Linked DNA regions of Homo sapiens: regions 2 and 3 are each linked to region 1. Evidence: promoter capture Hi-C in human tissues and cell types (Jung and others, 2019). All regions are on one chromosome and are shown on one strand. Each heading gives the region's core, a stretch centred on a gene start or on the middle of the fragment in contact. The rest is flanking DNA. Distances are from core to core; before and after follow the strand shown. Region 1 holds the start of ACVR1 (activin A receptor type 1). Region 2 has its middle 44 kb from the start of ACVR1C. Region 3 overlaps ACVR1 (activin A receptor type 1).

The links. The method cuts DNA at HindIII sites, captures the fragments that hold promoters and counts their contacts. A contact is called where the count stands out against the background at its distance.
Region 2: a contact is called between a fragment that was not itself captured here and the fragment with the promoter of ACVR1 in region 1, in 1 of the 25 tissues and cell types used here (mesenchymal stem cells).
Region 3: a fragment that was not itself captured here is called in contact with the fragment with the promoter of ACVR1 in region 1 in 1 of the 25 tissues and cell types used here (H1 embryonic stem cells).

The regions. Positions count from the first base shown.
Region 1 is chr2:157,873,973-157,879,069 of GRCh38, forward strand. It overlaps ACVR1 (activin A receptor type 1), which reads right to left and starts at 2,358. Exons shown (of 11, transcript NM_001111067.4): 1 at 1,824-2,358. LOC105373714 (a long non-coding RNA gene) reads left to right here and starts at 2,612. Exons shown (of 2, transcript XR_923518.3): 1 at 2,612-2,744. RefSeq lists silencers at 1,830-2,039, 2,130-2,179, 2,190-2,409, 2,470-2,709, 2,730-2,919 and an enhancer at 2,305-2,599. The HindIII fragment of the contact is 2,058 bases long and covers 1,482-3,539 here.
Region 2 is chr2:157,670,290-157,675,386 of GRCh38, forward strand. No RefSeq gene overlaps it. Among named protein-coding and RNA genes, the nearest start is that of ACVR1C, 44 kb to the left of the region's middle. The HindIII fragment of the contact is 5,534 bases long and covers 1-5,097 here.
Region 3 is chr2:157,743,827-157,748,923 of GRCh38, forward strand. All of the region lies in intron 9 of ACVR1 (activin A receptor type 1), which reads right to left. Among named protein-coding and RNA genes, the nearest start is that of ACVR1C, 120 kb to the left of the region's middle. The HindIII fragment of the contact is 4,548 bases long and covers 1-4,222 here.

The sequences.
Region 1 (5,097 bases), core at 1,108-3,607:
CAAATGATCACTCTCTTCCAAGGTACAAAAGTTGTAAGACTACTATCTAAATCAAGTTTTATTTAAAACCACCCTCTCCATTTCAAGTAAAACTCAACAACACAGCTGGAAAAGGAGGGCATGAACCCAATCTATAATCATCCCAATCCTTAGTCTTTGTCACCTATCCAGAATTTATCTATCCATCATTCACCACCTGTGAGTACCTGCATAAGGGGTAATAGCAGAAATGCTATTATCCAACACCCAGTTACATCAACTTAAGGCCTAGATTTCAGCTTCAAAAGAATTCCATTTTTTAAAATTCCAAGACAGAAAATAAAAACAAGTGAATCATAAAATAAGTGATCGAGGTCCCATCCAGGCATAAGATAACCTCCTGACCCCTATGTCCCCATCAGTGAAATGGATGAGGCCCATATTTCAAACTTAAGCAGTCTGCACACTATGAAGCTGCATGGCGAGGCCGATGTCTGAGGTCAGCACAAGTCTAGTGTCTGCTGGCTGCCCAAGCCTGGGCCCCTGGCCAGCAACCCACCTCCAGAGACAAGTGCCAGGACATACTATAGTGTTTCCATTTAAGGCCCGCCACTTGGATCAGCCCATCTCTGAAATTTCTTAACACCACCTTTCCAGGAAGAATTTTTTTGGGGAAAAGGGAGGTGGTGTCTATTTTTTGCCACCGCCTTCCCTTGGGCTGTCAGAGCAATCTGCATCTCTGGGACAGGATTCTTTAAAACCACTGGGTTATGTCTCAATTCATGGGCCTCTTCTCAAAAATATGTAAAAACATGTATGGAACGGGCCCCTTTGCCCATCATCTAACTCTTATCATACATCCCTCAAAAAAGAAAGAAAAGCCCAATAAAATTGACAAGTCCATTGTATTACCTTGCTGCCTCTCTCCAAAAGCCAAATTCATGACAACTTTTTAACCAAGACTTTTCTTCTGTTACTAAGTGGAACGTTTTCTTCTCTAAGTAGCTTTTCTCCCATGCAAGCAGCGTTCAAATCTCCAGGGGAAAGGAGGGGTGGGGAGGGGGTGGGAGACTATCTGGCACAAACTGGACAGAGCCGAGCCAGTCTAGAACCCGACGGAAGTTACTGAATCCAGCGGCCCCAGAGGCCCACATCTCTTCTTAGTGCGCCCGAGGTTCTAGCCTCACTGTTTTGGTTACAGTGTTGAAGGAAGGGTTTTAAACTTGGCAAAGTACCGTGCAACATCTGTAACCACATTTGCCTTCTGGGGATCGGAAGATGAATCCCACATTCCTGGCTTTGAAGCTTTTTGAAACTGCAGCTAGGAAGAACCGAGGGAGGGAGGGAGTTGAGCAGAGTTTATTGGCTGTCTCTCCAGCAGAAAATTCCTCTTGGAAGAGATGGATATTTTGAGGGTGGGGGAAATTCGCCTATCTATCTCCTTACTCTCTACAAGCTCAGCTAGGAAGGTAAGCCCCGTGGCCCCGCGGCCAGATCGATTTACAAGTCAGAGTCGCACACCCTGAAGGAGTTCACAACACACACACACACACACACGCACTCACACACACCCCAATACAAACCTGAGACCCCCGCTCCACGCCTCTGCCCCCCCACCCCCCATATCCCACCAGCAGTTCAGGCCCAAAGCAAGACAGTTTTGTTCCGCGGCTGCTTCCCCCACGGAGAGGGGATCAAGCTTGGGGGAGAAAGGAATGAAAGCGAGGGGGAGGCACCGCAGACGCCCACCCTGCCACCCCCGATCCCTGCCTCTTCTCCCGCTAGGCTACCTCCTCCCTCAGTCCTCCCGGCTCCAGCAGGCGCGGCCGGCGACCTGCGCTCACCTCGGGTCCCGCCGCGGCCGGGGGCTGAGCCGGGGGAGGCGGAGTGCGAGGCAGCCGGGCGCTGCAGGTCGGCGCGGCGCGGGGCGGCGCGGGGCGGGGCGGGGCGGTGCAGCCGGCGAGGGAGCCCGGAACTCTGCGGGGCCGGGAGCCGGGGGCCGAGGGCCGGCCCAGAGCGGCGGCGGCTGCGGTGGCTGCAGCGGAGCGGTGCGTGGGGCCGGGAGCTTCCCGGCCCTGGGGCCGGCGCGGCTGGCCGAGGAGCAGGCTGGCAGCGGCAGCGGCGGCAGCGGCAGCCACCCGGGGGAAAGAGCCGGGGGAGGGCGGGGAGGCGGGGTGAAGAGGAGGAGGAAGGGGAGGAGGGCGGGCAGAATAAACTTCCCGAGGCGCAGAGGCTCGGGCTGGGAGCACGACCGCGGGCGGGGCGGGCGGACCAGCTGGGCTTGCCCCCGGGGGCGGCGGGGGAGACCGTCACAGAGAGTAGAAAAGTTCCCCCTGCGCCGAGGGGGAGGCTGCGGCGGCGGCGGCGGCTGCAAAGAGCAGGAGCCGGAGCGGGAGGAGCGGGAGGAGGAGGAGGAGGAAGTGGCTGCGGAGCGCTCGGCCAATGAGTGTCTGGAGCTGTGATTAACCAGGCAGCAACACATCATTTCCTCCCGGCGCGGATCCAGGGAGCCGGGAGGGGAGAGAGGAGGCGGCGGGGCGGGGCCGTCCCCGCGCCCCCTGCAGGCGCCCGGCCGAGGGCGAGCCCGCCGAGCCCCGCCGAGCCTGACCGCGCCGCCCCCGGCGCGCCTGGCGCTGTCTGGCCGGTCGCTTGGCCCGGGTGGAAGCTATGAGCGCGCCGCCAGCGGGGCTCCTCGGAGGCGGCGGGGCAGGCCCGAGCTGGGCTCCTGTGGCCGGGGTGGGAGGAGAAGAGGCCGCGCGGCACGGGTGAGTGCCCAGGTAGGCGCGGGCGGGGCCGTCTGGACAGCTCCCGAGGGCGCGCGGGGCAGGCGGGCGGACGGGCGGGCATCCCGGGCCCGGCGACTGCGGGCGGCCACCTACTCGAGCCCTGCATGTCAGACTTGGGCTGGATTCTCAGAGAGAAGCCTTAGCATTCTCATCCAGGCCATCTCTGACCTGCCTTCAGATCCCCTTCCACTTTGCTCATTTCCTTGCAAGGTCTAGGGTTATGACAGAGCTTGCCATGTTCGCCTTTGGCTTCCTTAGTAACAGAAATAAGCATGGAGGGGCTTCTGCAGTGATCTAGCCCTGTCCTAGGCGCCATGGGAGCTTACAGTGGAAATGCAGGAACATTCTCCGCTGCAGAGAGTCTGATAACCTCGGTCCTTAGATACACAAAAACACCCCAGTGTGCTAATATTACCCAGAGCATCAAAAAGGCATGCAAGGATCAAATTTTGCATGGTTCCTGCTGAGTGTAAAGGAAAGCACTAAGCCATTTTCTCTGCCCTCTAGAAGCTTATAATGTACAGTCCTATCACAAAGCAGAATAAAAACATGAAACCTATAAATGGGAATGCCATAAAGTATTTTTATCTCTACAGGTTCATTCATGCAGAGGGCATTTATTGGGTGACTGCAGTACTGCAAAAGGTTGCAAAGGAAATGGAAGATCTGGTCCCTGCAGGTTGGGAGTTTACAATCTAATTAGAAATACAAGGCATATATACGTGAAAAAACTAGAATCCCCAGCTGTAAGCAAAAGGATGGAGTAGGTGGGAGCATTTTTTTCATAAAGAGAGCTTTGTACCTGTATGATTGGTGAGGAGCAGGAGAGGCAAGTTCAGTACCAATCAAGGCAAGAGCACCTATATGTATCCCTGCTCTATAGAATGATGTAACAGGGCCCTCATTGTCACTTGGCTGAAGTGTCAGCTCTGCCACTTACAAACTGTTTTGAACTGGGGCACATTTTTAACCTAAGAAGGGAATACAGGTTGTCTCGTGAGGTGGTTGTGCAGTTCAAATGAGATTACAAACGTGAAAGCTTGTGAAGCTCAATGATGTACATTCATGGAGTCCTCATTGTACAAACTGGCCCTTCTTGGTAACCTTTAGAGTTCCCTCCCAGGCTGTAAGCTGCAAGAGGGCAGGGACCAGGTCTGATTGTATTCATCATGTATCACAATGTTTAGCAGAAGGGTTCATGTGGGTGTTCAATAAAGTTTTGCTGAGTAGGTAAATAAATGAATTAATGAATCCTGTTATGCTCTGAACAGTTCCTATTATTTGTTCCTTAAGCAGTTCCTTCAATAGTGGTCTTATTGTATGGCTGGCTCAGTGAAAAACACTCTAACTCAACCTCCTGTGACTTACTAGTGTGCCAGGAGACTGGGAGAATTCTGGATGGTACTGTCAGAGGCATTCAAACCAGAGAAACTCCATTTTGAATGAGGGCTAGGAAAATGAGACTGAGACTGGCTGGGCTGCATTCTCGGGAAGTTAGGCTTTCTTAGCCTCTAGATGTTTACAGCTAAGGGAACAAATTAATAGTGTTTACTAAACAAACCCAGACTTGGGAGTGTCCAGATATCCCGATATCTGGAGAACAAAGGCATTCCTAATTTTGCTTTAAAGATAATATTGATTCTTGCAAAATATAGTAATTTATTTATTTATCACAAACTCTTGTAGCAGAGCACATCTCCCTATATATACGAGCGATGTACCTAGCATGGAATCGTTCCTCCTCTTACTTTCGGCAACATCCTACTTTGTCTATGGAGTAGGTGTCCTTTCACCACTTTGCTTTCTTAATAAACTGGCTTTTACTTTACACTGCGGACTCGCCCTGAATTCTTTCTTGCGTGAGATCCAAGAACCCTCTCTTGGGGTCTGGATTGGGACCCCTGCCCTAAAACATATTCCTGGCAACCACAGAAGGGACTTTAGTGCAGAAACCCTGACCCAACGGCTACCTTTGGGTAAGTGTTGGGGTCCTGTAACAGTACTTGTGGCCTTTCGACATAAAGTGTGTGTGTGTGTGTGTGTGTGTGTGTGTGTGTGTGTAAAGCAAGAGGCAAAAGGCTCCTCCACTCCTCCAGCAGGATACAGCCTTCCACACAAGCCCTGTGCACACAAGGATACAGCCCTTTGGCTTGGACACCTTAATCCGGGGTTTCTCAACCTTAGCACTATTGACATTTTTGGCTGGGTAATTGTTGTGAATGCTGTCCTGTGCATTGTAAGATGTTTAGCAGCATCCTTGACCTCTACTTACTAACTGCCAGAACACCCTCCCGCCACAGTTGTGACAACCAAAAATGTCTCCAGACAGTGC
Region 2 (5,097 bases), core at 1,146-3,645, 200 kb before region 1:
CCACCTATGTCAAAGTCAGTGACTCTTACTATGTATACAACCTGAACTCAAGAAACAGATATATTTCATTGTTTACTGGCATAAATTAAGCCAAACTGAGTTGTTCCAAGTCTGTAACAACACTTACTGTCTCTCCATTCCTAGTGCACCTTTTCGCTAAGGAACTGCTTTTCATTCATCCCATGTGATCAAGGCCTGATCAGTCATCCTCTTGCTATCATTACTGGTCCACAAAGTAGGCAGTCAGGGTTCCCTCCAGACTTTTTTTTATATATATGGGCGCTAAGACTGAAGCTTCTCTAATCTTCCAATATGAAAACTCTGTATGGGCCACAGACTCAAGTTGGCCATAATTCCCATCACATGGACAAAGTCTGACTAAAAGTCAAGTCAACACAGAGGAAAGCAGAGCCAGGAGATAAATAAATTTTTGCTGACATTATCTAAGCATCCAGATCCATTCATATCTGACTCATTCTACCAATGACTTTGTCAATCACGTAGGTCAATAAAAATTTTTTTCTTGCTTAAAGTGTTTTAAGATGGGTTTCAGTCAACAGAAGAAACCTGATTAATATGTACATGTATATAAAATATGCTTTATATATATGAAATATGATCTTGAAATTTGGGAAACCCAAACTATATATTAAAATATACTCATTGGAGCTGCCACTATTCTAACTTTCTGTATCTAAACTACTCCCCTGAGTTGCTACCACCAAAGACCTAGGGATGAGCTAAGAAACAAAAGCAAGAATGACTTCGATTTATTTCTCCTTTAGTTGGGTGACTCCACCTGCCTCTTGAGGTAGGTAGGTGGCTCTCCTTTGTTTTTTTTTTTAATTTTTGAAGCACAGGTTTATTTTTCCCTCTTGCAAAATTATTATTATCTTTTTTTTATTATTATACTTTAAGTTCTAGGGTACATGTGCACAACATGCAGGTTTGTTACATATGTATACATGTGCCATGTTGGTGTGCTGCACCCATTAACTTGTCATTTACATTAGGTATATCTCCTAATGCTATCCCTCCCCGCTCCCCCAATCCCACAACAGGACCCAGTGTGTGATGTTCCCCTTCCTGTGTCCAAGTGTTCTCATTGTTCAATTCCCACCTATGAGTGAGAACATGCAGTGTTTGGTTTTTTGTCCTTGCAATAGTTTGCTTAGAATGATGGTTTCCAGCTTCATCCATGTCCCTACAAAGGACATGAACTCATCCTTTTTTATGGCTGCATAGTATTCCATGGTGTATATGTGCCACATTTTCTTAATCCAGTCTATCGTTGATGGACATTTGGGTTGGTTCCAAGTCTTTGCTATTGTGAATAATGCTGCAATAAACATATGTGTGCATGTGTCTTTATAGAAGCATGACTTATAATCCTTTGGGTATATATCCAGTAATGGGATGGCTGGGTCAAATGGTATTTCTAGTTCTAGATCCCTGAGGAATCAGGTAGGTGGCTTTTCTTATCTCCTCTATATTACAACTAAAGAAATGCCATTAACATTCCTATCACTAACACAGCATGCACCCTCCCAATTTATACTCATATTTGTATATTAGGTGGTCCCTCCTTAGCCTCTGGGGTCTTAAATTCCAAGCCCTCCAGTGGATGCCTGAAACCATGGATAGTACCAAACCCTATATATACCATGTTTTGTCCTATACATATATAATTATGATAAAGTTTAATTTATAAATCAGGCACCGTAAGAAAGTAAAAACAACTAATAATAAAACACAACAACTATAACAGTATACTGTAATAAAAGTTATTTGAATGTGATCTCTCTCTCTTAAGTATCTTATTACAATGTACTTACCCTTCTTGCAATGACGTGAGATGATAAAAATGCCTACATGATGAGAGAAAGTGAAATGAATGACGTAGGTGTTGTGATGTATGTAGTGTTAGGCTATTATTTACCTTCTGGTGCTACATTAGAAAGAGGATCATCTGCTTCAGGTGATCCTGGGTCATGGAGCCATGACGATTTTGATGGTCAGATGTCAGGAGCAGATGATGTCGATGACTAACCGACGGGTAGCATGTACAGCGTGGATACGCTGGACAAAGGGATGATTCACATCCTGGGCGGGATGGAGTGGGAAGGTGTGAGATTTCACCACACTATTCAGAAGGGCACACAATTTAAAACTTATGAATTGTTTATGTCTGGAATTTTCCATTTAATATTTTCAAACCGTGGTTGACTGCAGGTAACTGAAACCATGGGAAGTGAAACCGTGAACTGGGGGGACTACTGTAATATCTTTCTCCCTGATGAAATTGTGAGACCCTCGAGGAAAAAGACATATTCGTTTGTGTCCCCCAGAGCCCAGAGTGAAAGATCTGTCTCAAGAGTGTTTTCTGGGGATTTTTTAAAGTTGTCATGTGAAGTATTAGTTTTCCATACAAGAATGCTTCAATGATTTATTATGATTCTGAAGTTTCATTAGAGGCAGCAACTGCAAAGCAATCACTAAAACAGATTCTGGGTGAAAAATAGTTTGCTGTGTTGAATGTAGGCTCAAGCCTACAATTCTGTAGACTCAGCTTCTTCTAACTAAGCACACTCCTTAGTTAAATATTCTGCACAACTGTTCATTTACTTACTTCTGTGCCATAAAGCTAGAATAACTTAGGGAATTAGAACATTCTGGTGAATGTCTTACAGCTAACCTGAAATACCTTCATGTCTACTCTCACTGCTAAAACCTCTTCTGAAATGTCTAAGTTTCCACTTTACTAAGTAAAGATAGAACATAATTTAATGTTTATTTGATACAATATATTTTAGTGCCGTCAGGTCATCATTTGCAATGTCTTTTTGTCATTTAGATACAGAAAGTGTAGAATGTGGCCCCACATCTCTTCAGCCCCAGAACACATACCAGAATATTTATTTTTAAATTTAACTAAATTCCCGGTTGTTACTTTTGAATTTGTTTCTCTCACCTAGAAGCTGAGTGCAGTGGGGAAAATAATCAAATCAGCTGAAGGATTTGCACTTCTACTGTACTGTATTTAGATGAAGTCAAAGTTCATGAATGAGGCCGGGCACGGTGGCTCATGCCTGTAATCCCAGCACTTTGGGAGGCTGAGGCAGGCAGATCACCTGAGGTCAGGAGTTTGGGACCGGCCTGGCCAACATGGTGAAACCCCGTCTCTACTAAAAATACAAAAAATTAGCCAGGTGTGGTGGTGGGCACCTGTAATCCCAGCCTACTCGGGAGGCTGAGGCAGGAGAATTGCTTGAACCCGGGAGGCAGAGGTTGCAGTGAACTGAGATCACGCCATTGCACTCCAGCCTGCACAACAGAGCAAGATTCTGTCTCAAAAACAAAGAAACAAAACAAAACAAAAAAACAAAGTTCATGAGTTCATGAATGAGGCTTACTTTTATATACTATACTGTCAGTCTTTGGTAACCCCTCATTTAAGTCAGAATTGACACATTAAGAGACACAAATGCTATTATAATACACATACATTGAGGGGCCCTACATTTTCCAAGGCACAAGGAACAGTGGAATTGCCACTAGACTGAATGCGGTCAACATCTATATTTGTTAGAGTAGAAGAAAAAGCAGACCTTCAAATATATGTTTACATTCCTGGAAAAAGATTTGGAAAAAGATACCACAAAGAGATCAGAAGAGATCCCAGCCACAGACTTTTGGAAACTGAAAAAGAGATGGATGACTTAGCAGACCCAAGAAGCTAAATCCTAAACTGGCAGTGAGGAGAAGCGAGAAGCAGCTCATTTTACACTGTAGAACTCCTGAAGGCCCAGGAATTACTGGTGCTAGGTACCTCTGGAAGCATGAAGGTAAGGTTAAAATCAGAATGGTTGGTTCTAAGTGTTTTGAACAAACAGTCTCCAAGATTCCTTCCCTCTCTTGGGAGAAAAGCAGAGCTCATTCTCCGGAGAAGGTAAAATAGAAGGTTTTTGGCTGGGAGACTCCAGATAAAATTGACAGTGGGAGCCCTAACCAGAAAAAAAAAAAAAAAAAGAGGATGTGTAAAAGTTTGTATAGTACATTTTATGACCCTCCCAACCTTTGCCTCACTTGGATTCCATAGTATTGGCAGCCTGGCATATACCCTTTAGGTCAAAGATTCTAAGAGTTTTCTCTAGGGATCTGACCAGCTGCTTTGAAGATGATGACATTGAAAGTTTTTTAATTAAATGGCTTAGCCATGCACAAAGAGCTTTCAATTAGCTTTTTGGGGTCCCACTCTTACATATAAGCAGCAAACATTTGGAAAACAACTCTAATATGAAGATAGAAGTTTCAATTAATAAGAAGGGATATAACAGAGAGGAAACAATATATTTTTATGAAGAAGAAAATCTGGAAAATCACACATGAGCCATAATTAATATCTAGAGAATTCAAAGACAAATAGTGCAACCATTGAACAAAAATAAAATGTGTGTGTATGTGTGTACATATATATATTCAGAAACAATAACAATAAAAAAATCCTTTGGGAATTTAAATGGCAGTAGAAATTTATAAAAGTCCAAATAACTCTAGAAGGTAGAGTTGAGAAAAATCTTCCCAAAAAGTAGGCCAATATGACCTAGTATGGAAATAAGGGAGAAAACATAAGAAGATTTCAGGAAGAGTCCAGATGGTCTAAAATCTGATTAACAGGTGTTTCTGAAAGAAAAGACAGAGAAAATGAAGGGAGGGAACCATCAAAGAAATAATTCAAGAAAATTTTCCCAAACTGAACAACATAATTTTCCAGACTGAAAAGGCTCATCAAAAGCTCAGTATGATGGAAGCAAAAAAGACCCGCACTGAATCAGACACCTCTTATGTATCACATCAGATCCTCTTGGTCCCCGTTGTCTCTCATTTCAGTCGCTGTGATGACAACCAGATCTGCCAGGCTCTGCCAAGCTTCACATGTATCTCACCTCATGCCAGTACTGCAGGCCTTTTGACCTTGCCCTAAGGCTTTTGGTTGGCATTGAAGAGCGGGATGCCCCAGAACCCTATTTTACACCACACATGTTCCCACCCTGAAGTTCGGGACAAATCTTTGACCAGTGGGAAGTGGCAGCTCAA
Region 3 (5,097 bases), core at 699-3,198, 130 kb before region 1:
GGACTTCTCAGTTGCAGATAAGAAACTGTGGACCTGGCTATGCTTTGAATTAGCCAAAGGTAAGGGAAAGAGGAACTGATGGGAAGTTAGAGCCATGAGAATTCCATCCTTCCTTTCCTTCAAAAGAAATTGAGGGTCACATTGGAAAAAGTACTTTTCAAGTTCACAGCTAATTAATGGCAAAGTTAAACTAGAATCCAATTTTCTGTTTATATTCTAGAATTCTCCCTTACAAGCCACCCATGGGATAATGAAAGACATTTCTCTCTCTCCTTGCATCTCATGCCACAGTGTGCCTACTTCTCATTACAAACTCTCTTCATAATCCTCCAACTTGGGTAGTCACATCAGATATCCAGGTAATGAGGACAGAGTCTCTGGCATGTATATCCATACAAAGAGCTATTTTTAACAATTAACTCCTACAGAAGCGCTGAAATCCTTCAGAGGACAGAGCATTAGAAGTAAAGCTATTTTAGAGAGGGAAAAAAAGAAAATGGCCCATATTTGGCATCTGAGAGCACTATAAGTGAATACAGTGTTTCCTTCAGGTGTGGCACGTGAGAAAATTTGATGTGGTTCATGGACTAAACTTTTTCATCTCATTAGTTACATATTTATTTTCATAGTTATCTTCCATTTTATGCCATGTGATACTGGTTTTCCATTTCCAGCAGTGATAATAATTTCCTTTCAAAACAAAATTAACTTTGAAAAGAGTTAGCCAATTTGAAGGAAAAGATTCTGTAAATGATGGCACAAAGTAGCATTTGGATATGGAAAAAAATGATGAGGGCAGTATGAATGAATTGGGAAACACTGAGTTCACAGAAAGGCATCATTCTTCCTGGTGAGACATGATTCAAAAAGGTATATCCAATATTTGGGTTACTTCACCTAACATACCTCACAAGAGGGCTTCGAGATATTTCTCATGCCACGGCACAGATAAAACATGACTAATGAATAAATGGATGAGGCTGTTCATGGCAGAGGGGATGACAGCCCGAGTTCTGGCCGCTTGGCCCGGCCACACTGCCAGAGGGTTATGAGAATCAGTACCTCAGGCATTCCTGTAACTCATGGCAGGCACTTCTTCCTGAAAACAGGAGTTGGAAAGACAGCCTTGTCCCATGCTGGGTAAAGTACATGCTGTGACAGCTGTGTCCTGCCCCTCTAGCCCATTGTAATTCATGGGCTTACGGAGCCATGTACATTACTCAAAGTCCAAACTAATTGCATTCTCAGGAATCTGTTAAAATTATAAAATTAATTTCTATTGTTGGAATTCTCATCGATGTAACACAGCAAAAGTAAATGGTTTATAGATTACTGTGTAGTTGGACCCTACTAAAAGCATGTGTCAATATTACTGTAAGTTGTCAAAGGAGAGGGCAAAAAGCCTAGAGATGCTGCATGGCTATTCCCTGGGTTAAACTATGAACAAGACAGCCTTAGAGCTTGCATACCTCCAAAATCGAGAAAGAGAGGAGCACCACAAGAGTTCCAAACATTTGGTAGCTATGAAGAAAGGCTTCTTCAGAAAAATGTATCATTCACTGAATGTTGTGGCTGTTACAAGGTTTAGGATACAGATATTTCTCTTGGTGAAAGACTGCTTTTAGAAGTGTGTCAAGGAAAAGAGACTACTAGTCAGTAAACAGCAGCCAATAAAGTTTTGCAGCCTTCAACTTATTTTGTCATGAGGTTAGTTGACTACTCTCCTCTGTTCTGGATCTCTAAATCAGGGACATGAAATTCCAGGAAGTCAGGGGGAAAATAATTCTTCCCTCCCACCCCACCTCCATATTCCTGCCCCCAGTCATTGTCCTAAATGTTAAAACAAACAAAAAAACTGAAATTAATGAATACAAAAAATTGGCCCTAATATGATTTATCCTCTTATGCAAACCTTAATACACACAAAAGTAGGTAATTAACGTCATGAAACATGTTGGATATTGAGTTGCTGACAAAAATAGGAGTTGTCATGGTTTCCATACACAAGCCCCATTGCACTTAGGAGCAGAAGCACAAGCAGCTCCCTGGCTGACTCAAAGATTCATTAGAAGAGGTTCTTTTTTCAAAGTAAGTGCACCAAATATAAGCTTATTCTAACAAGTATGTCCTAGTCCCCACCCCATAAGAGGCACAACTTGGTCAGCAAGGATTTTTCTACAAGATACAAATGGTTTTTGACACATTTTAACCCTGGATTCCATCACAAAATAATCAAAGCCAGTAACAGTGAAACAAGAGTATGTCCACAGAGCCTTCCTGTGGGCAGTGAAGAGGGGAAACAAATGTACTAGGGCCAAGAGGTAGCAAAACAAGAGGCAGAAGACGGCCACTGTGATCTGCAAGCTCCTGGGTGGCCTTCATCACCCATTTTCCGTGGAAAGGAAACCATACCAAAGCACTTTCTATATGCCAGACACACATGAGATGCTTTACATATACGATCTCATTTAATCACCATAACCCTTTAAAGTAGATATTATTATTTTTTAAATAACGAAACTGATGTAAGTCATCGAGTCAGAGAGTATGACGTCAGACTCTGGAATGTTAGTGATTCCACTTCACTGCCTCCCACAGACCCAGCACAAACCCCACACAGCTCCGGAGTGCACTCTTCACACAGACTTCTGTATGCAGTGCAATGGCCCTAAGAGAACCACAGCAAGGAAGACAGAAGCACATCATGCTAATGTATCCAACCAAATTGGTGTTTGTCTATTCAATCTGGGTACACCGTCTTTTTTCAAAAACTCTCGTGTGTATTTGGCTGGGAGCCTCGGCATCACATTTTCTTACCCTAGAACTACTAAATCAGAAATGCTGGGGCTGGGCCCCGGGAATCTGTGTCTTCAGTACTCTAGGTGACTGTGATGCACATTCCAGTTTAAAAACTATCGATCCGAGTGAACCCCTGCCTTAAGTTCATATGGAAAATTCACACAGGGAAGGTAAGAAAGCCGTTTTCTTTCCTACCAATTCCAAATTCAATGTCAAATTAAACACCAAAAGTAAATTCCAAAGGACACTATTGAGAAATGCTCAGATGCAAAAATGGACTTAACTCTCATTTCCTGTAAAGAAACAGCATGAGGTTTATTATTAGTAGCAAATAAATGTAAAATTCCAATAAAAAATATAAAAATGCAACATATTTTTATGCTCATGGTTCACTTGAGGATCATATTACTCCAAGAGATCTATCTGGTCATCAATTTTTATAATGCATTCAGAAACTCAAAGGATGTATCATTATAATGACCTTCCTCACAGAAGATATTCATATATTTAAATGAGATACATTTTATATGCAATAATTTCAAAAATATATATTCTTTTAATGACAGTTCCTAAAGCTGCTAAGAAAATGAAATAGGCACATCACACCCTAGGGTATGGGGGATATTGTAAATTAGTACAGCTTTTATGAAAAGCAACTTGGCAATATGTGTCAAGCCATAAAAACATCCACATTCTTTGACCTATTAAGTCTACTTATTTTCAGATTAAGAATCATTTCCCTGAACGAAATCATCATGTGCACAAAAATGTCTACAATAGGCCCCAAATGGTGGAAACAGGATATCTAACAATATGGAAATGGTTAAGCTAATAAGATGTCATGTGACCATTTAAAATAAAAACAGCCTATTAAGCAAGATTAAAAAAAATACGAATAAAAAAGATGATACGGAATTATATCTATATATGATTACAACTAAGTTTTAAAAATGGGTGCATACAGAAGTAGAAAAAGATGTGAATGTTAAAATTTGAAGGCACAATTTCTCCTACTCATTTTTTTTCTGTTTTGGGAGAGTAATAATTAAAAGACTAACAGTAGTAAAACAGGTTTGCAAGCAGCATTGAATACTTTCAGGTTTAAGTTTAGATAAACTGATTTGTGTGTGGGGGGGTGTACATTGTGTGTATACACACGTGAATGTTCATAGAAGAGGGAACAGAGAACAAAAGAGAAAATATCAAATTAGTCATTGCCAAAGGACAGTGGCTGATTTTAAATGAGACAGGAGATACCCTTATCTCCCCTCTAAAAAAATCAAACCACATTACAGCACAGAAGCTCAACCCACAACATTCTGGGAACCAGTTAACAGTCTTGGTGATGATGCAAGGGAGAGATCAATAAATTAGAAAACAATCAAAACATTCTCCCTTCCTCTACCTTCCTTTTTTTTCTTTTTCTTCCAAAAATAATGTTAAACACAGGAACTACCAAGCAAGCCACCATTTGTTGAGCTAAATTTTAAACTGATGACTCTGACTTCCAACTGACTACTATTAATCACAGCTGATCTTTAAAAGCCACTTGGGTTTATGCCTGCAACACAGGGAACGGGTTTGCAACACGAGTTCTTACAAAGCCTGAATCCCAAGTCTCTGCTGAGCAGGCCTGCTTGGCTCAGCTCTGGCACCCCCACAGCTGGAAATGCTACTGTCTAGCTATGGAATGCCAACTTCCTCTTCATTTGGGGCAAGTTCCACATCATACAGTTTATTTGGACACCAATCCTTCTCTAAATTGTTTGTTAAGATAAACTAATCAGAATTAAAATTTTCAGTTCGAAGGTGTTTAAGAATGATTGGGGAGGGGGTGAGGAAATGAAGCTGACGTGCAATTTCAGGCAAAGTTCAGAACTTTATAAATCTGCAAAACAATTTCTCTGTTGCAAACAATTCTCAAGGGGCATCAAGGGCAGAAACTGCAAGGCAGCAGCTCCCAGTGGTTGAGAAACAATTACCAAGAAAACGTTCATGATTCCATTAAAAAAAAAAAACAACTTTAAAAAGAACTGTCAATTTACAATCCATGTATGTTTAATCTGAACACCTACTTTGATACCCTCAGAAGGTTTGTTCAAAGCAGATCCACTCTGCTATTAGGAAAAAAAACCACCTAAAGGCATGCCAATTTTAATTATTGTACACTAAAACTATATAAATTACCCCAATTCCACTACCTCACAGAAAGTCCTCATCTCTGGCTGTGCTATTCATGAAAATTATGATTGCCCACAAACCTCAATCCTTAGGAGAAAACATCAGTGGAATGTGGAA